Regions from separate parts of the Homo sapiens genome. Here all the other regions are linked to region 2. The links are contacts of gene promoters, found by promoter capture Hi-C in human tissues and cell types (Jung and others, 2019). All regions are on one chromosome and are shown on one strand. Each heading gives the region's core, a stretch centred on a gene start or on the middle of the fragment in contact. The rest is flanking DNA. Distances are from core to core; before and after follow the strand shown. Region 1 overlaps RRP1B (ribosomal RNA processing 1B). Region 2 holds the start of PKNOX1 (PBX/knotted 1 homeobox 1). Region 3 holds the start of AGPAT3 (1-acylglycerol-3-phosphate O-acyltransferase 3). Region 4 overlaps HSF2BP (heat shock transcription factor 2 binding protein).

Region 1 (7,165 bases), core at 2,142-4,641, 710 kb before region 2:
ATGGGCAGTGAGGGGCCGGGCTCGGTGGCTCACGCTTGTAATCCCAGATCTTTGGGAGGCCGAGGCAGGCAGATCACCTGAGGTCAGGAGTTTGAGACCAGCCTGGCTGACATGGTGAAACTCCATCTTTACTAAAAATACAAAAATTAGCTGGATGTGATGGCGTGCACCTGTGATCCCAGCTACCCGCTACCCGGCAGCCTGAGGCAGGAGAATCGCTTGAACCTGGGGGGGCGGAGGTTGCAGTGAGCCAAGATCTCGCCACTGCACTGCAGCCTGGGTGACAGAGCAGCGAGACTCTGTCTCAAAAAAAAAAAAAAAATAAAAATAAAGAAATGGGCAGTGAGGAGCTAGGACCCCCCTCTTCCCCGACCGCCTTGTGGAACCAGGCTGCGAGCCGCGCCAGGAGCTGCAGCTGTGCTCCAGAGAAGCTTGCCGCTGGCAAAACCCCACTTACCGGCAGTCATGTTTCTGTTCAGCCCAAAGGTGACTTTCTTGGAGCTGGATGGTGTCTTGTTTAGCTGCAGAAGAGAAATAACAGGAACAAAAGGAGTGACGCAAGTGCAGTGGAGGCGCTTAGTCAGATTTTTCTGGAGAACCTGCCCTGGAGGGTATGCCGCCCACACTGCTGCTTACTGAGTGGCACATATAGGGAGAGGCCAAAGGGACTGCGGCCAAGACTGAAACCGACCCTCCTGTCGGGGCTTCACCAGGACCGCCCTTTGTCCTTCCCAGCGTCCCACACACGCAACCCCCCAGCCCAGGGTCAGTGGTGCCCACACTCTTGGCCCATCTGCGGTCACTGCCTCATTACCGCTGCAGGGTTCTACGATCCAGGGAAGAAAGGCAAACAGAGAGGATGCCTGAACTGTCCTAAAAACAGTTCACCACTGAGAACCCGTGAGGAAAAATGCCAAGACTCCCCTGCCTTTTGCTGGAGAGTTCTGAACTTCTAACTTGAAGACTCTATGACATCGATGAGACGATGCCTATGATGGAATCTCACTGCAATGGACAATGGACACACAGTTTCCAGCTTTTTGTGCACAAGGACTCTGAGCTATCTGCATATCCCAACAGTTCACCACAATCAACTATCTTCTTTCCTACTTACATTCCTGGAAGTGGATCCAGCCTGCATCAGGAAGCACTGCCTCAAGTTCCTGCTCTGACCCACATTTCTGTGTGGACCTCCTACTGCTGACTTGCACCACTTGTGTTTAACACTGTGACATTTCACGAGAGAAAACTGGTTTCTGCAAACCCTGAGCCGGAAGCCCTGGGAGGCAGAATGTGTGGATCAACCGCCCCTCAAAGTCCCCTTCCTGACTGTGATCCCTCAGGGTGGGTCCCAGACCACTCAGACCTTATGCTACCCTGGCCGTGGAACCTGTCCACTGTGGACAGGCTCAGAGGGCCACAGTGGGGCTCCAGGCCCGGCATGGGAAGCACTGTCAGCTCAAGCCCATCTGTGCCCTTGTGGTGAAATGTGCTGTGCCACTCTGGGGAGGGTGCGTACCTGGACGGCAGGGCCTGGAGGGTGGGTGGCAGTGCTGCTCTTGGCTCTTCTGAAGAACAGGGGCTTTGGTAAGAAGGGGGTGTCAAACTTCACAAAGTCGCTCTCTGCCCTCAGCTTCTGCTTCTTCAGGGAACTGCAAGTCCCACTGCTTCCCTACGTGAGCGAGGGGTGAGAAGCGGAGGAGGGGTCAGACGACAGAGCCTCCTGTGCTGCCCACACACACAGGAGGGGAAGGCAGAGCCCCAGGCAGATCCAGCCCACCCGACGGCCCGCGGTCTTCCGCACCGCACTTGCAGACAGCCCTTCCATTCGGCAGAGCTCAGGCTTCACGCACAACACGACCGCTATCATGGCACCATGCCAAGAGGGGCGATGAAAACGCCTCGTCAGAGTAAGGACCCACTTTTATCTTCATCTTCAAAATGGGGATTTTGGCCTTTCAAAGCCGATCTGTTAATAAGATCGACTCTCCCATTTGTAGCTGAATCGTCACTGCGCTGGCAGTCTGGTGTGGAGGACAGTGATGCCCATGTGGGGCTGTGGGTCCCTCACAGGCAGGCCCAGGACACTCATTGCGTGTGCAGCAACTGACAGCCACCCAGAGAGAGACCGGGTCTCGTACTTGGCTCTCAGAGGTGTGGGCAGCCCAGTGCCGCTGCCGACACACGGGTGGCTCCGGCAGGTTCAAGTGTGCCGCCTGGAGGGCAGGGAAGCCCGAGGAGCTTCTCCTGTGCGCCTTCCCTGTGCCATGACAGATGGCAGGGGAAAGCTTCCCTTGACCCTGGGACTTATTGAGCAACACCCCATCCTCTTTACAATAGGCTGCCAGGGGCCTGAGACGACAGCAAGAAAGGCAATGTCTCTGGCCCTCTTAGTGAGGGAGCAGCGCTGAGGGTACGAGGGGCAGGCTGCAGTCCAGGGAGGAGATGGCGGCACTGTGAGGTAGGAGAGACTCGAGGCTAGAAATGGGCCTCCTGCCGTCCAGCTCAGTGCACTGCTGCCCCTGGGTAAGGCTTTCCTGACCATAAACTCACTCACTAGCCACTTGCAGACACTCTTAGCCCCAAACCAGCGCTTCACCAGGTCCACACATGTCCACTTAAACAAGAGATGTCATAATCTCCGCAAAGCGGTGTGTGCAAACCAAGAGGTGACCAAGGTGCGCAAACTCTGTGAAGGGCAGAGTTATTTTCTGCTTTACAGACCGCAGGTCTCTGTCTCTACCACTCCCCTCTGCCGCTGCAGCATGAAAGTGGCCACAGACCTGCACATACAAGTGGATGTGGCTCTGTTGCAGTGACACTACGTTTGCCGGCCCTGGCCTGGAAGCCCAGGGCGCCCAGAGGTGGTGTGAAAAGCGGATCAGGGCCAGGCGCGGGGGCTCTCGCCTGTAATCCCGCACTTTGGGAGGCCGAGGCAGGTGGACTGCTTGAGCCCAGCCTGGGCAACAAGGCAAAACTCTGTCTCTACAAAAATAACAAAAATTAGCTGGGCATGGTGATGTGTATCTGTAATTCCAGCTACTTGGGAGGCAGAGGCAGAAGAATCGCTTGAACCTGGGAGGTGGAGGTTGCAGTGAGCCGAGATTGTGCCACCGCACTCCAGCCTGGGTGACACAGCCAGACCCAAGACCAGATCAACAGCTTGGTTCCTCATTTATATCTGGCTCTAGAAATCAAAGTGGAAGGAAAGTCTTTCCATTAAGAAGATAAGTGGTCCTGCTAGTGAAGTTTCTTGAGCTGGGGGGTAGGGGGGAAGCTAAGAAAAGAAAAGAATATAGAAAAGAAGGTGAGTGAAGCAAGAGAATTTTGGGCTTCCTCTTTTGCCAAAGGGGCCTGGACTGGCCATGCGCTGATGAAGAAAACCAGACCTGCCTTTGACAGAGGCCTAGACTGGCCTGAACACGCCTGGGGCAGGAGTGCCTGGCCCAAGGGATAACTTTCCCAGCTTGGAGTGGGCCCTCCCGAACCCAAGCATGTGGCCTAAGGGAGTGAAGGTGGCCGATGAGGAGGACCGAAGTACTGGTCACCTGTGATTTCCTCCTTAGTGAAGGCTGTTATGAACACACCCTATTCTAACTGCTGCTGAGTCCAGAGGCCTGGCCGCCAGCCCCCACCCTTCCTCTCAGGAGGCAGTGGAGCCCCATGGACGCGAGTGAGTGCCTCTGTGGCGAGCTGGCCTGTGGGTGCTCCCACCTTACCAGAGCCTGGGGTTGCCCAGCTTCGGACTCCAGCACCCCGTTGTGCTCCACCAAGTTTGACATCACTCTCATTTTCTTCCTCTTTTTCAAACTTGCTGTTTTCTGGCTGGGCAGGCCACAGAGCTCCAGGCTGCCGGGCCCTGCCTTCTTTTTCTGCAGCCTCCTGCGCTGGGGCAGCGTGGTGTGGCTGTTCGCCCCCTCTGCGGGGCCTGTGGGAGGGCCTTCCTGCTGCAATGGAGGCCAGGCCGGCGTGGACAGGCCACTGCCATTGACGGGCACAACTCCAAGTTTCCGCTTCCTTTTTAGGAGTTGGGCTCCACCTGTCGGGGACCCTCTAGGTCCCTGAGGATGACTGCCACTCGGGCCACTCTGAGACATGTCCTCTGGGGGCAACACTGCTGATTCCAACATTTCCCTGTGGGCCCTCGGGCTCTTCTTCCGTGGCCGTTTCCTTTTATTGTGCATGGGGACGGCTGGAGGATGCTCGGAGCCACTCTCCTCCCCAGTGCTGGACGTGGCCTCTGCACCTGGCTCGGCCACACGTGCCTTCAGGGCTTTCAGCCCAGAGGCCTCGGGCTCCCTGCCCCGGTTCTGTTCCAGGGATGGGGCTGCACCCCCTGGGCCTGGATTTTCAGGCTGCAGGTGGTGCTTCTTCTTCTTCTTCCTTCTTCTCTTTTGAAGACTGCTTTCACTGTCCTCTTCCTCTACACAAAAGACTCTGCTTCCTAAAAAGACAGAAACCCATCAACAAGCACCCAGTGCCAGCTGGGCCAGAGTCCTGCTGGCGATTCTCAGACAGTATGACTGGCGGACGCAATTTCCTGACATTCTACCACGAGGAAAGTTCCTGTCTCCCTTGAGGTACTTGGTGCGCCCACTACCTTTGTCGTCTGGTCCCACTTCCTCCATCCCCAACTGTGACTGGAAGCCTTCCTTCTGTCCGTTTATAAACACATATGGAACTGAAATAGTCCCATTTCCACTAATTTTAGGGCTCAAGGGTAAAAACCATAGATCTCGAGTGGTCATCAAACAGCCGCCCCCCAGTGCTCCCTGCAGCTCCTGCTTCCCTGCAGAGGTGCCCTGGAGAGCAGGCGGACGTGAGCGGGGTGAGGTGGGGACGCGGCTCCACCAAAAACAGCACAACACTTGGAAAACCGCCTTTACCTCTCAGCCATTAAAGACTGAAGCTTTGGGCTCTGCTAATGCTTTATGACGGCACGAGCTCAAGTCTCCGAGGCCTCCATGGTGCATGCCGCTCCCCAAGGGCTGAGTCGTGCCCTTCTTTTTAGCTTTACAGCTTACCTTTCTCCTTTTCCAAGTTAGTTTTCTCTAAAAGTTTATTTCCTTTCTTCTTATGCTTTCCTTGACTGAGGATTTGGTCATCTTCATCAGCAGAAATGTCCTCCGCAAAACTGAGTTGAGATATACTGCTTCCTAGATGCCAGAGTGACACACTGTTAGCTTCCCCAGGCGCTCAAGACTCTGCCCCAGGGGCCTAAGAGCAGCACCCCTCCCAATTTCTGCCTCATCATCATCGTTCCTCACCGTTTCTCCCACCCAAACCTGAGCGCTGCTGACACAGGAATTACAGACTTAAAAAAGCTTTGTGGATTTCTCAACCAAGGCAAGGCAAGGGATCACAAGCCCTCGGTGACACCCTCCATGGCTGGACCCCGGACGCTTGGCTAATGCAGTCTCTGCATTCCAACCAGCTTGCTGGTGCCTTTCCCAATTCCAAGTGTCCCTAGTGAATGACGGGTATGGGGTAACTTCACTGACTTGTCCAAATGTAACAAAGCTTACAGCATCAGCCTTTCCCGGGGGGACCATTGACCATAAGAGCAAATGAAAGGGATCCTGAGAAATTACATTTTTTACCTTCATAGAGTATCCAATTAAAACCTTCCTAGGCCATTGAAAATCCATCTAGTTAAAATAATAAAAACCAAACCAAAACATCGCAGTACCCACACATGAGAGCAGTCTGCCCTCTTGCTTTGGTGGTTAGGGAGAGCCCAGGATAGGAAGGTGGGCAGGCTGCAGGGAGCCCTAGGCTTGCATCACTTCCCACGCTGTACTGCGGTATGACTAGGTAAGGGCTGGTCTGTCTTTCTTAAAAGTTGGGGTCTTGTTGTGTCACCCAGGCTGGAGTGCAGTGGTGTGATTACAACTTACTGCATCCTGGACCTCCTGGGCTCAAGCGATCCTCCCCTCTTAGACTCCCAAGTGACTGGGACTACAGGATCACGCCACCACGCCTGGCTAATTTTTTCATTTTTAGTAGAGATGTGGCCTTGCTATTTTGCCTGGGCTAGGGACTATTATTTCTTATCAGAGGTTTTCAGTAAAGTTCTTTCAATCTTGTTTCTCAGCGTTTGGCATCAACGCCCCCAGTGGGGTCCATATTCACGAAAAACACCATGAATGATGATTCTTGGCGCGCCTCACCTTCAGAAAGGTCTTGGAATCTAAAAATAAAAAAATAAAAAATAAAAAATAAAAAAATAACAAATGTTCATAAAGAAATCCCTTCTGTCTTCTGTAGACATATGTATTTGATTTTTAAAATACAAGCCATAGTTAAATAGTTGTTAATTCACGTTCTCCTCCAGGAGGGGAGGCTAGACAGGAAATTCTGTGAGGGAAGGGTGGTGCAATACAAAAGCCAAAAAGCTCAAGGCCAGTGCCGCCCTCGGTTACCATCAATACCAGCAAGGACACGGCGGGCCAAAGATGCATCTTGGCACACCCAAATCAAACTAAGAAATTCAATTTTTGTTTCTGAAGGCAGAAATAGCTTAGATCTCTCTCATATTCAATTCTCCAGTGGAGAAAGGCGAAGCCATGTTTTGCTTCACACAATTTTTGTGCATTAGAACAAACAAGACGCATCGAAGCGCAGTGTGGGGAGGTGCATGGGGGAGGAGACACTGGATGGCAGGGACCTCAGGCAAGCTAGGACCATCCTGTGCCCTAAGAACCAGCTGGGAAATGGGCAAAACTACAGGAGCTACTTTCTGGGGGCTTAACATGGAATACTTGAATGTATACAAAGTGCTCAGAGCAGTGCCCGGCTCCTAGAGTGTGATCAGACAGTTGTTGTCACCAATGACAGCAAGCCACACGAGGCCCTCCATGAATTCCAGGTCATCATGTCACTATGGTCAGAGTGACATCAACACTGACAGCTGAATTAACTAACACTTTTGGCATAGCCATATGGGAGGGAGGGGAGAGGTAAAGAATTAACCCTATCTATCTCAGCAGCACACCAGCAGAAGACACCTAAATAGCAGATTCACATCAGTTTCTGGTTGGTTCATTTTAGACATGAATAGACTTCACATCATTCTAAAGCAGCTAAGAGATGAGTATGGCTGCACTGGAAGAATGGAACCTGAGGGGTGGGACTGCTGTTTCCATTAAGCTTTTCAGTTTACATG
Region 2 (7,095 bases), core at 3,261-5,760:
CAAAATTAGCTGGGCATGCTGGCACATCCCTGTAGTCCCAGTTACTCAGGGGGCTGAGGTGGGAGAACCACTTTAGCCCAAGAGGTCAAGAGTGCAGTGAGCTATGATCTCACCACTGCATCCCAACCTGAGCAACAGAATGAGACCCTGTCTCTCAAAAACATAGCCAAGGCCAGGAACAGTGGATCATGCCTGAGGCTGAGGCAGGAGGACCACTTGAGGCCAGGAGTTTGAGACCTGCCTGGATAACATAGGGAGACTTCATCTCTTTAAAAAAAAACAAAAAAGGGCTGGGTGCGGTGGCTCATGCCTGTAATCCCAGTACTCTGGGAGGCCAAGGTGGGTGGATTATTTGAGGTCAGGAGTTCAAGACCAGCCTGGCCAATACGGCGAAACCCTGTCTCTACTAAAAATACAAAAATTAGCCGGGCGTGGTGGCTCACGTCTGTAGTCCCAACTACTTGGTAGGCTGAGGCAAGAGAATCACTTGAACCCGGGAGGCAGAGGTTGCAGTGAGCCAAGATCGCGCCACTGCACTCTAGCCTGGGCGACAGAGCGACTCCATCTCAAAAAAAAAAAAAAAAAGAAAAGAAAAGAAAAAAACAAGTTAGCCAAGTTGTAAATGCAAAGCAGAAGTTTCTTTCCAATTTTTGAAATTAAAAAAATACATACACAAATTTTTGAAATTTTAAATCACCTCTCAGAACAAAGGAAAACTTAAAGGCAATTAAAAAGTGCTACTCCAGTGAACACATGAATAAGAAAATGGCCAGGTCCGTTGGCTCACACCTGTAATCCCAACACTTTGGGAGGCCAAGGCGGGCGGATCACTTGAGGTCAGGAGTTCGAGACCAGCCTGGTCAACATGGTGAAACCTTACCTCTACTAATAATACAAAAATTAGCTGGACACATGCTGCACACCTGTTATCCCAGCTACTCGGGAGGTTGAGGCAAGAGAATTGCTTGCACCCAGGAGGCAGAGGTTGCAGTGAGCCATGATCATACCACTGCACTCCAACCTGGGCAATAGTCTCAAAAAAAGAGGGAGGGAGGGAAAGAAAGTGAAACAGCCTTATTGGTGATATGTGGAAAGTATGAGTGGTCTGATTAGATCAAACCAGCCACAACATTCCCTTAAACTGAAGCCTAATCGAGAACCAGGCCCAAGTTTTCTTCAATTCTATGAAGGCTGAGAGAGGTGAGGAAGATGCAGAAGAAAAGTTGGAGCCAGGCACGGCAGCTCACCCCTGTAATCCCAGCACTTTGAGAGGCTGAGGCAGGTGGATCACCTGAGGTCAGAAGTCCCAGCCTAGCTAACATTTAGTAGAGCCCGTCTCTACTAAAAATACAAAAAATTAGCTGTATGTGGTGGCAGCTGCCTGTACTCCCAGCTACTACGGAGGCTGAGGCAGGAGAATCGCTTGAACCCGGGAGGTGGAGGTTGCAGTGAGCCGAGATCACGCCATTGCTCTCCAGCTTGGGCAACAAGAGTGAAAATCCATCTCAAAAAAAAAAAAAAAAAAAAAAAAAAAGTTGGAAGCAGCAGAGGCTGGTTCATGAGGTTTAAGGAAAGAAGCTGTCCCCATAACACGAAAGTACAAGGTGAAGCAGCAAGTGCTACCTAACAGAAAAGCAACACCAGGTTATCCAGGTCTAGCTAAGATCATTGATGAAGGCAGCGAGACGAAAAAGCAGATTTTCAATATAGACAAAAGACTTCCTTTGGAAGGAGATGACATCTAGGACTTTCATACCTAGAGAGAACTCAGTGCTTAGTTTCAAAGGGCAAGCTGGCTCTCTTGTTAGGGGCAAATGTCACTGGTGACTTTAAGCTGAAGCCAGTGGTCTTTGACCATTCTGAAAATCCTAGGGTTCTGAAGAATTATGTTACGTCTACTCTTGCCTGTGCTCTGGAAATGGAATAACACATTACTGAATATTTTAAACCCACTGTTGAGATCCACTGCTCAGAAAAAGATTTCTTTCAAAATATTACCGTTCACTGACAATGTACCTAGTCACCCAAGGGCTCTGATGGAGATGTACACAAGGAGATGAATGCTGTCTTCATGTCTGCTAACACCACATCCATTCTGCAGCTATGGATCCAAGGAGTAATCTTGACTTTCAAGTCTTAATTATTTAAGAAATACATTTTGTAAGGCTATAGCTGTGGTAGTGATTCCTCGCATGAATCTGGGCAAAGTAAACTGAAAACCTTCTGGAAAGAATCTGCCATTCTAGATGCCATTCATGATTCATGGAAGGAAGTCAAATAACATTAACAGGAGTTTGGAAGAAGTTGATTCTAACCCTTATGATGACTTGGAGGAGTTCAAGACTTCAGTGGAGGAAGGAACTGCAGATGTGGTGGAAATAATGAACAGTTGCTTCTTACGGATGAGCAAAGAAAGTGGTTTCTTGAAATGGAATTTATTCCTAGTGAAGACGCTGTGCACATTGTGGAAATGACAACAAAACATTTGGAATATCACATCAACTTAGTGGATAGCAGTGGCAGAGTTTGAGAATAGCCTCCAACTTTGAAAGAATTTTCACTGTGGTTAAAATGCTATCAAAACAGCATCACATGCTACAAAGAAGTCTTTCATGAAAGGAGGAGTCCATCAATGCAGTAAATTTCACTGTTGTCTTATTTTAAGTAACTGACACAGCCACCACCACCCTGATCAGTCAGCAGCCATCCACACTGAGGCCAGATTGTCAAAGTATAAAACAAGCAGGACTCACTAAAGGCTCAGATGATCATTAGTATTTTTAGCACTAAAATATTTTTTAATTAACGTAAGCACATTTTTATAGATATAATGCTTGCTATTGCACACTTTAAGTAGTATACTGTAATTACAACTTTCATATGCACTGAAAAACCTAAAACTGTTGCGTCACTTGCTTTACTGCAATACTTATTTTACTGCGGTGGTCTGGATTAGAACTCGAATTATCTGAGGTACGCCTGTGTACAAGGACAGGATTCACAAATCACTCTAAGTAAATTAAGCAGAGTGATGAAAGGCTCATTGGGGTCAGCCTGCCATCTTCCAAATTATGACTAAATGCAAGAGCATCACCAATAACTATACTGGCAGAGGTTCACATTTCACCTCGATTCTTCCTTATGTTTAGAGAAAGCCTATTTTTCAGTATGCCAGGAAAAATCATGAAAGTAGACCTAACTAAAGCTGGGGGTTTCTTTCATCCTGAAGAGGAACCACTTCCTAAGGAAAAATCATCTACTGTTTTAAAAAGCAAACTCTCGTAGAGTTGGAAGAGAACCCCACACACAGGTGGAACACCCCCCAGGGCTGCGGCCCCGCCGTGGCGCTCAGCCTGGCCTGCCCTGGGCCCGACCTCAGGACGCCGCCATTCCCGGACCCTCGGGCCTCCCGTCAGGAATCCGCCATCGGAACGGAGGCCCTAACTGGTCCCGTCGCAGAGCCACTGTCCAAATAAGGCATTTCGAGAGCCACGAGGATGACATAAAGCAGACTCCGCGTTTCTTCATTTTTCGTTAAGTGACACGATTTCCCTCACAAGGAAGGTGCAAACCCACAGGGCGCCCAGACCCTGCCCGGCACTTCCTGTCATCCATTACCACGACCCGTGTGACAGAAGCGGCTCTTCCCACCAATTCCCGGGACGCCGGAACCGCTTCCCCAGCACCCGGCCCCAAACACTGCCGTCAGCGAGCGGCCCTGGGCTGCTCCCGCGCCGGCGCCCGGCTGAGGGCCACGAGCCCCATCACGCCCACCGCCCCCAGGACCCCGACCCACCCGCTCGCCACGGCCGAGGCCGGGGCCGGGGTCGCGGCCGCCATCTTCCCGCCTGCGCCGCCGCGCGCCCCGCACCCTCCGAGCAGCCCCGCCGGCCCTGAGGACTCCGCGAGGCCGCGGACCCGACCGGCCCCACGCGCGCCGCCCGCCCCGGCCCCGCCCCGCCGCGCGCCCCCGACCCTCACGCCCGCCGCCCCGCCCGCGCCGGGCTCCGCGCGCCCCCGCCCCGCGCCGGGGCGCGCGCCGCACTCCGAAAGGGACGGTTAGGAGCGCGCGCTTCGATCAGGCCCAGCGCGGCGGCGGCGGCGCCTTCCAGAAATTTCCGCGTCCCTCAACCCACACTAAGAAACCAACTGGGCGCGCCCCCGCGCCGGTTGGGCTGAAGGCGCCCCCTCCCCCGCGGGTGCCCGCTCCCCTCCCCCACCCGCGCCCCCTCCCCGCCCCCTGCCCCGGGCGGCGGGTCAAATGCGGGCCCTCGAGGGCAGCGCCGGCCCTCCAGACCCGGGCGGCAGCGGCGGCGGCGGGCGGCGGCCGCGGGCCGGTGTGATTGATAGGGACGGCGGCGGCGAGAGCGGCGGCGGCGGCGGCGGAGCGGTTGAGTGACAGCTTACCTGGGTGCCAATCTTCATCACACTGACAAGCGGCTGCAGCAATCGGGACCCGCAGTGCCGCGCCCGCGTCCAACCGTCACGCCGACGCTGGGCCACGCGACACAGCCTCGCTCAATGGGAGGAGGGCGACGCCGACGCGCGCCGCATCAATATTCAGAGAGGGGGCGGGGCCTGCCGGAGACGGGCCCCGCCCCTCCCTGCGCGGCGGCGGGCGCGGGGCGGGGCCTGATCGCTGGGGGAGGAGAGCGAGGGCGGGAACCGGGCGGTGGCCGGCCCCGCCTCCAGCCCCGCCCGCACCCGGAGCTAGGCCGTGCCCCCAACCGGCCGCGCCCGAGCGCGAGGAGCTGTCTGCCCCGCCCCGAAGGCAGAGCCTCCCGCCTTATGACTATGCAGTAGGGGCGTGGCCTCAGCGCACGTCTTGCCCCCTCCGCGCCCTCGGTTGCCGCCCAGGAGAGGTGTGTGTAGCCGGGCGAAACCATTTGCCTCGAGCAGGCGGGGAGGGAGGGCTGTACCATCCGTAACCCCACCGCCGGGCGTCCCGTAGCCGAAGGCCTCCGTTCTGTGTGTGCCCGGTTTGAATGTAAGCCCGTGGGAGCCTCGCAGCCTTCCTCCCCAGGCTCTGGAGCCCGGGTGGGCCCGTCCTGGGCGGCACAGTGGATGCTCACGTGCCTCCCCCCCTGCGGCAGCGCGAGTGCTTAGCACCTGAGGCTTTACCCTGGGGGCTGTCTTCCCTCTGTGAGGACCCCAGCAAGGACTCATGATGTCCACAGGTGCTTAGGGGTGGCCTCTGGGCTACTTGGCCTCGCTTGACCACACCTTCCGGCCCAGGTGAGCCTTGCGGGTCTAGGTGACCAATGCGGCCTCCAGGTAAAGGGCACCTGCCTTAGGGGACGCCCACAAGTGTCTGCATTTCAAACTGCTTTGAAAGACCACCCTAACCGACCACTGCCACAATGTACCCACAAGTGCAGATGGTGGCTTTGGTCTCCAAGATGTAAGGAAAGGGCGACACATTCCCCACTGCGTAGGAAAGCACACGGTTTGCCTGACTGGCCTTCAATACTGCAGAAACATCCATTTATGCAGTGGCCCACCGAAGGCCATCAGTGCCTTGAGTCCATACACAGCGCGGGAAGGGCAGCTCTGTGGGCCCCCACTCCTCCCGGAAGGCAGACAGGCCCAGGACTGGAGCTGATTGCTAGAGGGAGCCTGGGGGTAGGTCTAGGCATGAACAGCTCGGAGGACATCCCTCCTGTGTCTTCAGAGCTCCACACCGCCAGGAGGTCTTGGCCAAGTGCTGTGCAGCTGCAGAGCCGCCTCTTTCAGAAAGATGGGAAGCAGCAGGGTGGGCAAGAGGGAGGCCCTGAGATACTTGCCCAAGGAGGGAAGTTCAAGGGGACAAAAAAAGCTCAGTATTCAAGACTGAGCATAATCTGCAGAGCCTAGTGCAAGATCCAGATGCAAGTGTCAATAGGTGTTGGAACAGAGAGACTCCACATGGGCTGGGTAAACTGAAGCTGAGACCTGCTGGGCCGCACCCCCCAGGAGTTAAGGCGTTCTTAGTAATCGGATGAGATAGGAGGTCGGAACAAGACACAGGTCACAAGGATCCTGCTGATAAAACAGGATGCAGTAAAGAAGCCGGCCAAATCCCACCAAAACCAAGATGGCGGGGAAAGTGACCTGTGGCCTTCCTCACTGCTGATTATACACTAATTATAATATATGAGCTTGGTAAAACACACTCTCGCCAGCGCCATGACAGTTTTCAAATGCCATGGCAACGTTTGGAAGATACCCTACATTGCCTAAAAGGGGTCGGGCGCAGTGGCTCACGCCAGTAATCCCAGCACTTTGGGGAGGCCAAGGCGGGCAGATTACTTGAGGTCAGGAGTTGAGACCAGCATGGCCAATATGGTGAAACCCCATCTCTACTAAAAATACCAAAAAATTAAGCAGGCGTGGTGGCATACACCTGTAGTCCCAGCTACTTGGGAGGCTGAGGCAGGAGAATCGCTTGAACCTGGGAAGCAAAGGTTGCAGTGAGCCGAGATCACGCCATTGCACTCCAGCCTGGGCAACGAGCAAGACTCCATCTCCAATAAATAAATAAATAAATGGAAGAGGAAGCCTAAGTTCTGGGAATTCCCCACCACTTTCCCAGAAAACTCATGAATAATCCACCCCTTGTTTAGCACGTGATCAAGAAATAACCAATATAATTCAGGAACGGATTCTAGGGAAAAAAAAAAGGACCATAAAAATAGCCAACCAGCAGCCCTTGGGGCTGCTCTGCCTATGGAGTAGCCATTCTTTGGTTTATTTACTTCTCTAACAAACTCACTTTCACTTTACTCTGTGGATTCTCCCTGAATTCTTTCTTGTGTAAACTCCAAGAACCCTCTCTTGGGATCTGGATTGAGACCCCATTCCAGTAAGACAAAGTCCCTGGCTCAGAAATTACAGTGAAGAATTTCAAGGCAGTGACAGCAGAACCTTACCCCAAGCCTGGGCCCTTCTCAGCAGGGGCAGGGGCCCTGTGACATGCTGTTCAGGCCCCTGGAAGCAGCCCGGGGCTCACTGGCCACACCTACACCTGCCCCCGGTCTGAAGCTTTCATTTATTTGCATCTGGCCTGTGAGACAGCAGGAGTTCCACAGGAGGACCTGAGCGCATGGTCACCCAGAG
Region 3 (6,738 bases), core at 1,906-4,405, 890 kb before region 2:
GTAGATTTCTGCCAGTCACACACTGAAGGATAGTTGTGTTGCTTTCAATTCACCACCAGTAACATTTAAAACATATCCTATCTGCAATCCTTCTACCTAGGCTTGGGAAAAGACGTGGCCAATTTAACCCCAGCATCCATGCACCCTAATAGCCAGGTACAGACTTTGGCCCTGCAGAAAGAATGGCCAACTTTCACCATCAACTCGGCCTTCCCGCCTCCAAAACTAAACACAGACACTGCCCCAAGGTTATGAGACTGCCTGTCTCCTGCACTTTGCTTGACAAAGATAATCAAAACATGGCCGCTTGTAAATGACTACATGAAAGCCTGTCAGAAGGTGAACGATTAATGCACTTGCCTAAAATGCAGCGCTTTGAAATTGGTAATTTAGAATCAATCTTGAAATTATGATGAAGTGGTTTTAGGAAGGACAGACGCCTCGTGGTCATGTTACTTTACCACTTGAAACGACCCGTTTAAAACCCCAAACACTCTTCGGTTAACCAAAAGTAAATTCCCATGAAATTTCTGAGCAACTGTCTTTAGAAAACTCAGTCCAACTTTACTGTAACAAAAATCTTGCAATGAGATGGAGCAGCTAAAGATCTCACATTAAACAAGTCATTAAAAAGGAAACAGTCAAATGTAGCCAATCACGTCCCACGCTGCGATCTAGAAACACCAGTCCACCGGCGATACCTTATAACAGGGACATCACAAGAGTTTTTGACAAGGCCAGAGAGGGGGGGCAAAGCGTGGAAGCAGAAGCCATTGAATTTACCAGAGGTGGGTTTTGATGGTGACAACGGGCCTGCACTGGCTCTTCAGTGCCAAGCACTAGGGGCTCTGCCGTGGGGTCTGCAATGTGAGAGCCTAAGCGGGGCTGAAGATTGATGAACAGGGTAAATGTGATTGGGCAAGTTAAGGACACCCCTCCTCCAAAGGAATCCAGGAAATCAGGCTCTTCTCAAACACACATTCTGATCTTCCCCTTCCCTGTTTAGGAGAATTCCAACATTTCCCACCTACCTCTGATTTGACCAGGGATAGCATCCGTGGACTTTCAGCACCCGGACGGGTCTGTGGAGGTGGGAGTTCCAGGGATGTAAGCCTAAAGGCGGCCCTGCCGTTCCGTGACACAACCTCGGGCAAGTAACTCAAGCCCTGTTGTGTCAGATCACTTGTTTACGAGGTCAAAGTGCGGAGGGGATGGGAGGCAGGTGTATCAGTCACGTGTCTACGGCAGGGACGGAACAGATTACTTTGGTGAATGCTCTTTTTCTAATTTCCAAAATAAAGCCATTACTTTCAGTTTGCTTCCCCAGTCCTGGCACACAGACGCGCGTCCAGGCGCAGGGTGTAGCTCCCCAGCGTGGAGTCTGCACTGGGGCCCCAGCCTGGGGCGGGGCAGCACCCTCCCTCCAGGAAGGCCTGTTCTAGAATCCACACTCCTGGGGACTTTCCCACCCGGCCACACTGCCTTTAACCCAGCAGTCTTCAGGCTGCTGCAGCGCGTCCCCCTGGCAGATACGCCAGGACAGGGCCACGCACAGGTAGGGTGACCACAGAGGGCGGCCACTCCATGAAGTCACCTTCAGAATATTTAAGGCCCCTACACCTTCTAAGGCCAAGGGGCCCTGTTCTGTCTGAATGTCAATGGCATGCAGCTGCTTTTTAGACAATGTCCTCAAGAAGATACTTAAGACTAACCAGAAATGGATACAAGAAGCGAGTTGTAACAGGCACAGGCTAACGCCGAACTCTGTGGGGGAGGAGGATTGGTTGGAAAGAGGGAGGGGGGGCGGCAAAGAAGTGGCCAAATCAAGAGAGTGCTCAGCATCCTCGGGAGACCCCTCTGAAGCTTTCAAACTGAGAAGACGAAGTTCAGCAATTCCTAAGCGAGTCGAGTCGGAGCAGCCGCGCCTGCAATTTAAAAGCTGCAGGATCCTGGGTCCCTCTAGCAGCCTGGGCCCGCCGCCCGCCCCACCTCCCAGCCCCCAGCAGGCTCTCGGCGTTGGCTTTCATTTTTAATAAGAGCCGCATGCTCATCACCCTCTGTCTGGAGGCCAACAGCCCACATCTTTCTTCTACTAAGATCATGTTTCCCAGGAAAAAGAACCCAACTGCTCAAGTATTCTCCTAGACAAAGCTTTTAAAATTGTGCTTTTTTTTTTTTAAAGGTCTGGGAAGCCATTTATAAAAGCATTTTCCCCATGTCACTAAACTTCTCTCAAAGTTAAAAAAAAAAAAAAAAACACTGCACCATTTTTAACTGCCTTCAAATACTAATAACCCTCCTTTCCTAAGTACTTGGGACCAATGTTCCAAGGGTCCTGGGGTGGCCAGGAGTGGGTTTTCGCCCCCACGGCTCTTGCCCCCGGACTGACCCCATCCCCTGACCCGCCCGGTGCAAACGCGCCGCCGGTCTCCGGGCCGAACCCACAGCCAACCCCGGGCCCCGCAGCCCTCCCCGCGCGGAGCGGCAAAAGTGAAACTGCTCCCTTGGCCTGGGCGCGCGAGGAGGAGGCCCCTGGGGGGGGTCCCGGGTCCGCCGCGCCCCGAAACCAGGCGGCGGGCGCGTCCTGTCCACGGGGGAGCCGAGCGGGGCCCGGAGCAGAGTCCAGGACGGAGGGATGGGACGTCCCCGCGGGAACCCACTCGCCCTCCCTCGGCCCGGCCCGGGCCCCTCCCGGGCGCCCCGAACCCCCGGGCCTCCCCGCTGGGCCCAGCGCCACCGAGGCTGCTGCGGGAAGCGGCCGGGGCCTCGCGCTGGACCAGGCCGCCGGGGAGGCCGGGGTTGCGGGGGGCGCACAGGACCCGGGCCCAGACCTCCTCCCGGCCCCGCGCCTTCCCAGGCCCCGCGCCCCGCGGAGCGCGGCCGGCCCATTGCGGCGCGGGGCCCCGGGCGGCCCGAGGTCGGACGGCTGGGGCAGGGGCGACCTCCGGCGGCGGGAGGGCGACCTCGGGCGGCGGCGGGGCGTGGGGGAAGAGGGGGGCGGCCCGACCTCGGGTGGGGGCCTCGGTGCTCACCTGCAGCCGCCGCCACCTGCTCGTCGCGCGGGCGTCCCCGGCGTCGCCTCCGCGGCCCCGCTCTGGCCGCCGCGCTCCTCGGCCCTGGGCCCGGCCCGGCCCTGCGTCGGGGCCTCAGCGAGTGCGGCGCCCGCCGCCCCCGGCCCCCATCCCGCCGCCCTCCGCCCTCCGCCCTCGGCCGCGCCGCCGCCGCCACTTCCTGTGCGCGGCGATCCCACAGTTCCGCCGGCGCGCGCGGGGCGGCCGAGGGACACGCTGGGGGGACACGGGGGAAGGACGCGGGGGGGGACGCGGGGGGACGGCGCGGGGGGGGACGCGGAGGGGACACGGGGGCGACACGGCGGGACACGCGCGCGGAGAGAGGTGTGGGCCGAGGGCGCCGGCGGGGCCGGGCGCGGAGCCTGCGTGGGATCCGCTAACGGACGGGGCTGGGGCCCGGGCTGGGGGAGGGGGCGGGCCGGGACCGCGGGGGGCGCGGGGATCAGGGGGGTCGGGGCTGAACGGGGGGAGGCGGCGAAGGACCAGGCTGGGGTCCCGCGAGGGCTCCCCCGGACCGGGTCGGGGGCAGAGGGGGCCGGGGCGCGGGGTGGGGCCGGGAGGGGCCTCCGAGCTCTGCCTGGGCCCCGCCATCTCCCCTGCCGGGGTCTCCTGCGGGCGCCGGGGAAGTTTCGCGCGCGAGCTCCTGCCCTGGTCGGCCGGGGCTTAGGGTCGCCGTCAGGGGTCGCCGCGCGGCGGGCTCGGTGGGGACGGCCCTGCGCGCAGCGGCTCCGCGGAAGGATCGCGTTTCGGCCCACGTGCCGCGCCCTTGGACTTATTCATAGTTGGCACCCGGCTGGCAACACTGTATCGACACTTGACCGTGGCGGGGGTGGGGGTCGCCCCGGGGCTGCCCTGCGAACCCCCGCGGGCGCTGACGCCGTCCCCTCCAGACCGCGGAGCCCTCTCAGCCCCAGGACAGCGGCTGCCGTCCCCCCTCCCTTGCACCTGGCCAGCGGCCGATCCCAGAACCTGCGGAGGCCGCGCAGGTGCCGCTGTCAGGGCAGGGCCCGCTGCGGGCTCCGCCTCCTGCGCCCGGTACCTTGTGTGACCTGGCGCCTGCTCAGGTCCTCAGGCCCCGGCTGGACTTGCTGAGCTTGGGTGGGCTTCATTTGAAAACCATTTAAAATACCAAGTACTGGTACTGTCTACTGTGCCCCTTTTTTTCCTTTTTTTTTTTTTTATTTTTATTATTATTGAGACAGGGTCTTGCTCTGTCGCCCACCCTGGAGTGCAGTGGTACAATCATAGCTCGCTGAAGCCTTGAACTCCAGGGCTCAAGTGATCCTCCCACCTCAGCCTCCCAAGTAGCTGGGACCACAGGCACACACCACCATGTCTGGCTAATTTAAAAAAAATTTTTTTTGTAGAAATGGGGCCTCACGGTGTTGCCCAGGCTGATCTCGAACTCCTGAGCTCAAGTATTCTCCCACCTCCTCCTCTCAAAGTGCTGGGATTACAAGTATGAGCCCCCGCACCCAGCTTGCACCTCCCTTTAAGCCTCCTCAAATTATTTCAGAAAATACTTAGACTAAAATAAAATGAAAGTACCGTGCACCTGTCCTACTCACAGTTCCCTTATTCTTGAAAAAGGAGTTAAGATTTGCAAAGCTCGTGGAATTCACCATTTGTAAAACCTCTCACCCCTCATGTCATTTTGGGTAATCTGTGCCACAGATAAATTCTCACAGGCACCACGGGATGTGTGGATACAGGGATGTGCTGACTTACAGCTATACCTATAATCACAGGAAGCCTGAGAACAACCAGACACTTGGTTAAATAAACTCTAGAACATTCATTTAGCATTTTTAATTTAAAACATTTTCTAAAGTTGTGATGTGATAATTCTGTGTACACAGATAGGATATAGTCTCCAAGATCTGTTAAATTAAAAAATAAAAATAGTGCAGAGCAGTGAATATACAATGATGTGCTTTATTTAAAACAAACAAACAAACAAAAAATGGCCAGGCACGGTGGCTCACACCTGTCTGTAATCCCAGCACTTTGGGAGGCTGAGGCTGGTGGATCACGAGGTCAGGAGTTCAAGACTAGACTGGCCAAGATGGTGAAACCCCGTATCTACTAAAAATACAAAAAAAAAATTAGCCTGGCGTGGTGCAGGCGCCTGTAATCCCAGCTACTCGGGAGGCTAAGGCAGAGAACTGCTTGAACCTGGGAGGCAGAGGTTGCAGTGAGTCAAGATTGTGCCACTGCACTCCAGCCTAGGTGACACAGTGAGACTCTATCTCAAAAAAAAAAAAAAAAAAAAAGACCAGATGCAGTGGCTCACACCTGTAATCCCAGCACTTTGGGAGGCCAAGGCGGGTGGATCACTTGAGGTCGGGGGTTCCAGACCAGCCATGGTGAAACTCCACCTCTGCTAAAACAAGATACAAAAATTAGCTGGGCGTGCTGGTGCTCTCTTGTAATCCTAGTTACTCAGAAGGCTGAGACAGAAGAATTGCTTGAACCCGGGAGGCAGAGGTTGCAGTGAGCTGAGATCTAGCCATTGCACTCTGGCCTGGGCGACAGAGCGAGACTCTGTCTCAAAACAAACAAACAAATAAAAAAAAAAAAAAAACAGAAAACAACATAGGCAGATACAAGTCCAGAAGGCTCTGTGAAGATATGATAGTGAATGGGCAAGGGTAAAGAAATTTTATTACAATAAAATTTCTATGTATGTTAGGTAGTAATGTTTAGATTTATCATAAGCACACATTTTATAATTTATATATTTTATAATTTATTATTACTATTAGAAAAAGGGTGTCCCCCCGTCACCCAGGCTAGGAGTGCAGTGGTATGATCATAGCTCACTGCAGGATCCCTGAAGGGATCCTCCCACCTCAGCCTCTCAAATAGCTAGGGCTATAAGCATGCACCACCACGCCCAGCTATTTATTTATTTATTATTTATTTAGTAAAGATGGGGTCTCATTCTGTTACCCAGGCCACTCTCAGACTCCTGGCTTCAACGATCCTCTCACCTTGGCCTCCCAAAATGCCAGGATTAGAGGCATGAGCCACCCAGCTCTGCATACTTATTAAAAATGAATTATGATGTACCTCTTCATTTAAACATTGGATGGCTCCTTCAGCCTCACTTTGAGCTTTTAGATGAGCCCCAAATATTATGTTTGTCTCACTGGTGTAAAACTTCACTGACAGACCAGCCTGGGCAACAAAATTAAAATTAGCTGGGTGTGGTCCAGCACACCTGTAGTCTCAGCTACTCAGGAGGCTTAGGTGGGAGTCGAGGCTGCAGTGAGCCATGAACGTGCCCCCTGCACTCCAGCCTGGATGACAGAGACAGACCCTTTCTTCATTAGAATCTGTGATCACTGAGACCTGAGTCGAGCCCCTGGAGAGCCGCAGGTGCGCAGACACTCAGAGAAGCATTTGAAGGGAACTGGAAGTCAGCCACCCACCCTCAACTGTTTACAGGGTTCCAGTGTGCAGGTGCTCAGATTGGCAGGAAACGTCATCGCTAACCTTTGTTGAGCCCTTGTTATGTGTGTAGATTAGTTCATTAACCAAAACCAGGCCACAAGGTAGAGACGACTGACACCCCATTTTACCTTTAAGGAAACTGAGGCATAACAAACCTCCCTACCTTATCCGCCAGCACACAGGGCAGCAGAGGCAGGCAGCCCGGCTCTAG
Region 4 (7,283 bases), core at 4,680-7,179, 670 kb before region 2:
AGCTTAGCTTCTGGCTCGGCCATTGTCACTTCATGAGTTTGGGAAAAGTTTAGGGAGGTTCGAGTAAGACTCAGCTATGTTTGCAAGAGATGTAAACCGGGCCGGGTGCGGTGGCTCACGCCTGTAATCCCAACACTTTGGGAAGCCAAGGCTGGCAGATCACTTGAGGTCAGGAGTTCGAGACCAGACTGGCCGACAAGGTGAAACCCCATCTCTACTAAAAATACAAAAATTAGCCGGGTGTGATGGCATGTACCTGTAATCCTGGCTACTCAGGAGGCTGAGACAGGAGAATCGCTTGAACCCAGGAAGCAGAGGTTGCAGTGAGCTCAGATCATGCCACTGCACTCCAAACTGGGTGACAAAGTGAGACTCCATCTCAAAAAAAAAAAAAAAAAAAAAAAGCAAGCCTGAAAACACTATAGGAACCTCCATTTGACTTGTTAAGGTAGTGGCACTTAAGTACTTAGTAAGATATCACCCTCTGTTTTCTTTCATCCCTTCTTGTGCTTTATTCATCCAACAGTGGTGAATAAATCAGTGGGTATCAAAAATTTGTTTAAAACTAGGAAAATCCTATTTTTTATAAATAAAATTTTATGGGCCGGGCACGGTGGCTCATGCCTGTAATCCCAGCACTTTGGGAGGCCGAAGTGGGCGGATCACGAGGTCAGGAGATCGAGACCATCCTGGCTAACATGGCGAAACCCTGTATCTACTAAAAATACAAAAATTAGCCGGGCATGGTGGCGGGCGCCTGTAGTCCCAGCTACTCGGGAGGCTGAGGCAGGAGAATGGTGTGAACCCCAGAGGCGGAGCTTGCAGTGAGCCGAGATCGCACCACTGCACTCCAGCCCGGGCGACAGAGCGAGACTCTGTCTCAAAAAAAAAATTATATAATAGTATATGATGGTTCTAGATGTAAAATAGATGAAAACTGTATCTTCTGGGTATTTGTTTTTAAAATTAAGTTTTAGAACATTGACTTATAAAATCAGTAAGTACAATGAAGGTGGTGCGATGAAAACACAAATTTAGTATCAGGGATTTTGGAAGGTACTTGGATGATCACTTTCAGCATCCAGTTTGTTTTTAGTTTTGCTTGTGAAGTCGCAAGAAGACACAATCCCACAGATAAGGAGTTGCAGATGGTGGTTTTGAAGTAGTTCACCTAGCAACATGAAGACACTTTCTAATTAAACTGATATGAAGCTTGAAATAAGAGGAGTCAGATATTTTTGTTTTACAATTAAATCGCTAAGATCGAGCAATTCTTTGCTTTCCTTGATTGGCAATTGTTCATTTTGGAGAGAAATAATAAAAAAGCCATTCAGTCTGTTTAAATCTTCATTGTCTTACAGAAAACACTTTTCATGCATTATGCTGCATTTGACAATTTGGCACCTTAGTGGCAGTCAGATATTCACTGACAGTCTCAGAGGAGCTGGAATTATTTTTGTATGTTGACAGCACACCTAAAATGTTGGCCTCATTTCTGAAATAATTAAAATGTTAAATAATTTTAACCTTTTAAAATTTGTTTATATGTTTTTTGATGTTAATGTGAACCAGCCTTGTTTTGGTCATTGAAAATATCAGCAGTGAATGCGAACTAGTGTAGCCATGATACGCTGGTGAGATATTTGACCAACAGATTTTTCTTTCTTTTTTTTTGAGATGGAGTCTCCCTCTGTCACCCAGGCTGGAGTACAGTGGCATCATCTTGACTCACTGCAACCCCAGCCTTCCTGGTTCATGCCATTCTCCTGCCTCAGTCTCCCGAATAGCTGGGACTACAGGTGCGCGCCATCATGCCCGGCTCATTTTTGTATTTAAAAATTTTTTTTCAAAAAAATAAAAAAAACCCCAAACTGAAAAACAAACAAAAGGCCAGGCGCGGTCAGCACACCTGTAATCCCAACTACTTGGGAGGCTGAGGCAGGAGAGTCGCTTGAGCCCAGGAGGCAGAAGTGACAATGAGTTGAGATCATGCCACTGCACTCCAGCCTGGGCAACAGAGGGAAACTCCATCTCAAAAAAATTTTTTTAATTAAATAAATGAATGATGAGCAAATGAGGCAAACAAAATGTTAATAGTAGGTAAGTCTGGGTAAAGAGAGATAACAGGAATTTTTTTTGGCATTAGTTTTTGTGAATTTGAAATTACTTCCAAATAAAAATTGTAAATAACATTGTAAAATGGAGATATTAATTGAATGTTTATGGGACTGTAGTTGTTCCCCAGGTACTCTTAGATTCTTAGCAGTAGGATTTGAAAACCACTGCGCTATGTGATTTCTAAAGTGTAGGATATTTTGAGATTAATTTCCTGAGAGTTTGATACGGGGTACCCCCATTTCAGTTCTGGGAAGAATTATTTGTAGTCTGTAGAAATAAGAACTTGAGAAATATCCATGAAGAGTAGAACCAAAGAGTCAGCACCAAAAAAGGATTATTACTTTGACTCGGAGTTTATTGTGGCCCAGATAAAAGAACATGAAGAGTGTGTCACATCCATATCCTGGCAGGGAACAAAAGGAGTAAACGGAGTAAAGTGAAGAGATTAAAGTGTGATCAGGGTTGGGGGAACCAGTGCCTGGAGAAAGAAGCATCCGGGAACTAACGAGTGGAGCGCCATTGCCTCCCCTGGGCTGAAGGAGCAGAAGGGAGAGAGGTACCAGACGTGGCGAGAGGCGTTGCTCCAGACAAGATGCTTGACAGCACCTGGGACCTCACCCAGGAGGATGAAGCCCAGCAGGGAGGATGGAGTGGGGAGACATGTCCCATCCTTGGTCATCTTCTCTAGTCCTCCAGTTTCCTGCGGGGCTGCTATTGCATCCAACAGGAAGCCATAGGACGAGGGAGCCTTGTTACTGTGGGTCTTCACATCTGCCTCTTGGGGCACAGATCAGGGTGGAGATTGTCCAGAACATAGGAAAGTAGAGGGAAAAAAAACACTTGGGGAGCTTATGGACAGAGAAGGTGGCAAGGTGGTCAAGATGGAGGCGGAAGAGGTGTGTGGTGTTTTAATATCACCCGTGACCGCTCTGCTGTTCATGTCATATATGTGTGTCAGTGAATGAAAAGCAAAATTCCCTGACTCTGGTTTGGGAAATCAACAGAATTAATTTGAGTTCAGCAAGATTGATTTTAGTTTTTTTTTTTTTTTTTTTTTTTTGAGATGAAGTCTTGCTCTGTCGCCCAGGCTGGAGCGCACTGGCGTGATCTTGGCTCACTGCAACTTCCGCCTCCCAGGTTCAAGCAGTCCTCATACCTCAGCCTCCCGAGTAGCTGGGACTATGGGCGTGTACCACCACGCTGGGCTAATTTTTGTATTTTTAGTAGAGATGGGGTTTTGCCATGTTGTCTAGGCTGCTCTTGAACTCCTGACCTCACATACCAGGTGATAAAGAAATGGTAAGATAAATTGACGCCGTTTGTGCAGTTTTCTTTGATTAGTGTTTTAGAAACCCTTATTTTCCTTTCTAGCTTTCTGTACCCTCCCTGTGAATAAATTGAGCATCAAGAGACACAGCCATTCTCATGTTATTAGACCTGTATTAAGAAAGGATTATGGACTGCGTGCAGCAGCTCACGCCTGTAATCCCAGCACTTTGGGAGGCCAAGATGGGCAGATCACTTGAGGTCAGGAGTTCAAGACCAGCCTGGCCAACATAGTGAAACCCCATCTCTACTAAAAATACAAAAATTAGCCAGGCGTGGTTGGTGGCAGGCGCCTGTAGTCCCAGCTACTCGGGAGGCTGAGTTAAGAGGATCACTTGAACCTGGGAGGCGTTGGTTGCAGTGAGCTGAGATCGTGCCACTGCACTGACAGAGAGACACCGTCTCGGGGAAAAAAAAAATTGTTGTTTCAGAAGATACATAGATGTTTAAATGGTCTATGATTTAGGTTGTTTGTAATATTCACTGTTCATATTATTTCTGTCTCTGGGCTTAAAAAAATATAAAAGTAATATATTCTTATTGTATGAGAATGAGACATACAGATAAAGTAGCCATGTGTTTTTCTTGGTTCAAAGATTAGCAGAAGGAATGTATAAAGAAGTGAAATAAATTTATGTGACAAATATTTATGTATTGCCTACTATATTCCATATAGACATTTGGAGGGTGGGCATAGAAGAAAACCTATGCAAATCCCTGCCTTCAGGGTGCTTTTAGGTAGCATGCATGCAGTGGGGCCAAGTTGAAAATGCAAGGTCAGGGTTCTGTTCCGAGGCAGCAGCAATGCTCCCATCTGGCCACAAGGTGGCGGCCTCATACAGCAGAAGGGCACTTGTCACCTCCCCAGGAGCCTGGCGTAGATGGGTGTGGCCTCCCTGATGACTGACTGGAATTCTATGAGATTGCCTATCGTAGAGTGGGATGTTTTAACCCTGTCCCTTTGGTATGTTAACTTACACTAGGGTTGCATACAGCTGTCTGGAACAAGTGATTATGAAATTACCGTAATGCAAGAGAGCCGTTTTGGGTGGTCAAAGTTAATTCCCACAGGTTTTTACACATGATAAGGCTTGTAGAGATTTCCTGTCTCTTTTACCATGTTTGAGTAATATACCGTTTAATAGTAGAAGCCAAATTTAACAGTTAAATGCAAAGAAAAAATTTTAAATCACAAATTTCATCTCAGTTTTTCAGTTTGTTCATTTTTGTCTGTGACCATAGGTGGTATTTCATATGATTGTAGTGTGTATGTGTATAAATAATGTATTTCCATTTAACTTTGTTACAAATAATGCAAGTATGTAGTTTTTAAAGCATAGTGCTTCCTAGTTGATTTTTTGGCTGGGATTAGGATAAAATCAAGAATTCCAGTGAAAGTCATTGTGGCACAATATTTCTTAAAAGAGCAGAAAATGAAACTGTGATTTGAGGGAGAGGAAATAGTCCAAAGGCACTCTGCTCTATTTCTGAGAACCACTTTTTTTTTTTTTTTTTTAAGAGATGGGAGTCTTACCCTGGCTGGTCTCGAACTCCTGGCCTCAAGTGATCCTCCCACCTCAGCTTTCCAAAGTGCTGTAATTACACAGGCATAAGCCACCGAGCCGGGCCCCTAAGAAACGCATTTTATGAGAAGCTTTGCCAGCCAATTTTATGATGTTTAGCTGGTCTGAATATTTACTTTTAGGTTCTAATTTTTCTTCTAGGACGGGGTCTCTAGAAAATTTAGAGACTAGCTTGCTTTCTTCCTTCCTTTTTAACATTTCCTTTAGAGCTTTGGGGATACACGTGTGGTTCTAAGCAGTCCCCACAAGTGTCTTATTCTGGCTTCCTCTTGTCCTCTCAGACCCCTAGATTCGAAAGCCCTACCCGCTTCTCGTTTGTTTGCAGATAGTTGAGGAAGTGTCTGTGAGCTTTTTCTCCTCTAGGGTGGAGTAATGTTCCGTTTTCCAGGCGCCTGGCTCTTTGAGGCTTTCTCACTCATCGCAAGTGACAGTACAAGAATGAAACAGATAACCAGAGTTGCCTTGTGTTTTTCTCAGTTCAAGGATTAGGAGAGGGAATGTGTAAAGAAGTGAAATTCCTTCATGTGACAAATATTAGGTAGCTGCCTTCCATTACTCTCCATTTTTTTGCTTTTTCACATTCCTGTGGATGGGTTCCCTTGTTTGCTGTTGCTGGTCATGTGTTGCATGTTCATTTTATTTTATTGGTGATGAGAGACCAGGTTATCGCCCAGAAGTAGTTCTCAAAGTGTGGGTCCCAGACAGGCAGCATGAGTCTCATCTGGGAACTTGTTAGAAATGTAAATTCTCAGGCTCACCCCAGACGTTCCAAATTGGAAACTGTGGATGGAACCCAGCCGACTCTGTATTATCAAGTCCTCCAGGGATTCTGATGTACGCTAAAGTTTGAGAATCATTGTCCTAAAGCATCGCTACTTTAATCAAAGAAGTTAGACCATTAGCTCTTAGCACCCTCAAATCTTGGTATATGTTGGCATAAAAACTGATGATTTCCTAGCTTTTGAGATCAAACACTTAAAAATTTGTATTATATATTTGTTTTTTCGAGTGTCAGTATTTCTGCAACATAAAATTTTAAATTTAAAGTTGATAGTACTTTTGCTTGATTTATTGACGTGGATTTTTTTGGGATTTTTGTTGGCTGTTGTTGACTCATCAACTAAATGAGTGCGGTGGAGAGGAAGTATTACATAGTTTCCACTCTTTCACTATAGCATTTTCTCATTTTTATCACTGTTCTTTCCCTCCTCCAGTGCCTACTACTGCAGTTGTTCCCATTGAGTCAGTCTGCCAGTGGGTGACACTAGCTTTGTGAATCAGCCTGTGCTGGCGCCGTGCACTCCCTGAGCTGCCTTCTGCTTTTCATGGAGTAGCGACAAGTCTGTGCCATGAGACAGTCGGGCTTCTCAGCTCTGCCTTCCATCCTTTAAATAACATGTTTTCTTGAAGCCTTGAGTACTAGTCTGGCAGTAAAGTGAAACCTTAAAAACACAAAACAGAAAACAACCAAAGTCCTTTGTGCTGTGGGCTAAAAACTGAGATGAACTTAGAGAACAGGACTGTTAGAATATTGGTTATTCAAGGACAGGCTAGAAGTCAAGAAATGCAAATATTCTCACCTAAGAAATCAGTACACATTTTACTAAGTCAAGACTGGGCAAAATAGATGCTTAGGGAGAGATTAGTGACTTGAAATATCTTGAGTAATTTTATGTCTTTCTCCTAGACCTGGAAAGGAAAGAGCAAGAATTAGAGCAGCTGAAAATGGATTGTGAGCACTTTAAAGCCCGCCTGGAAACCGTGCAGGCCGACAACATAAGAGAGAAGAAGGTACCATGCTCAGGGACAGACTCTCACCAAGCCAGAAAGTGGGGCTGGCTTACAGCCTTTCACTTATGATAAGCAGTGGGACTGAATTTTTTACTCTTAATCCTCAATAAATTGTATTTGTAAATGTATGTATTCTGAGTGGGTTGGAATGTAGTTGAACAGATGGATTTTATAACCATTTAACACGTAGATCATTCACTTGGTATCTTTTAACTTTTATGTTTAAAAATCTGCCCTACAACATAAAGGTTCATAATTATCTTAGTTCATTTTGTGTTGCTATAACAAAATATCTGATACTGAGTAATTAATTTTTTTTTTCCTTTTTTTTTTTGAGACAGAGTCTTGCTCTGTCGCCCAGGCTGGAGTGCAGTGGTGCAATCTCGGCTCACTGCAAGCTCCGCCTCCTGGGTTCACGCCATTCCCCTGCCTCAGCCTCCCGAGTAGATGGGACAGGTGGCCGCC

Evidence for each region. Contacts are between HindIII fragments. The study calls those that stand out against the background at their distance.
Region 1: a fragment that was not itself captured here is called in contact with the fragment with the promoter of PKNOX1 in region 2 in 1 of the 25 tissues and cell types used here (lymphoblastoid cells).
Region 3: a contact is called between the fragment with the promoter of AGPAT3 here and the fragment with the promoter of PKNOX1 in region 2, in 2 of the 25 tissues and cell types used here (heart left ventricle and heart right ventricle).
Region 4: a fragment that was not itself captured here is called in contact with the fragment with the promoter of PKNOX1 in region 2 in 1 of the 25 tissues and cell types used here (spleen).

What each region holds. Positions count from the first base shown.
Region 1 is chr21:43,684,795-43,691,959 of GRCh38, reverse strand. RRP1B (ribosomal RNA processing 1B) reads right to left here. Exons shown (of 16, transcript NM_015056.3): 11 at 6,171-6,190; 12 at 5,025-5,156; 13 at 3,720-4,444; 14 at 1,520-1,672; 15 at 458-521. Among named protein-coding and RNA genes, the nearest start is that of RRP1B, 29 kb to the right of the region's middle. RefSeq lists a silencer at 3,715-3,844. The HindIII fragment of the contact is 4,062 bases long and covers 1,361-5,422 here.
Region 2 is chr21:42,971,977-42,979,071 of GRCh38, reverse strand. PKNOX1 (PBX/knotted 1 homeobox 1) reads right to left here and starts at 4,510. Exons shown (of 11, transcript NM_004571.5): 1 at 4,408-4,510. RefSeq lists enhancers at 2,985-3,711, 6,834-7,095 and silencers at 3,673-3,872, 4,013-4,332, 4,463-4,852, 5,163-5,322. The HindIII fragment of the contact is 23,812 bases long and covers 1-7,095 here.
Region 3 is chr21:43,861,640-43,868,377 of GRCh38, reverse strand. AGPAT3 (1-acylglycerol-3-phosphate O-acyltransferase 3) reads right to left here and starts at 3,155. Exons shown (of 10, transcript NM_020132.5): 1 at 3,033-3,155. RefSeq lists silencers at 2,397-2,716, 2,837-3,186, 3,737-4,096. The HindIII fragment of the contact is 11,781 bases long and covers 481-6,738 here.
Region 4 is chr21:43,643,824-43,651,106 of GRCh38, reverse strand. HSF2BP (heat shock transcription factor 2 binding protein) reads left to right here. Exons shown (of 9, transcript NM_007031.2): 4 at 6,715-6,818. Among named protein-coding and RNA genes, the nearest start is that of HSF2BP, 12 kb to the left of the region's middle. The HindIII fragment of the contact is 5,547 bases long and covers 3,156-7,283 here.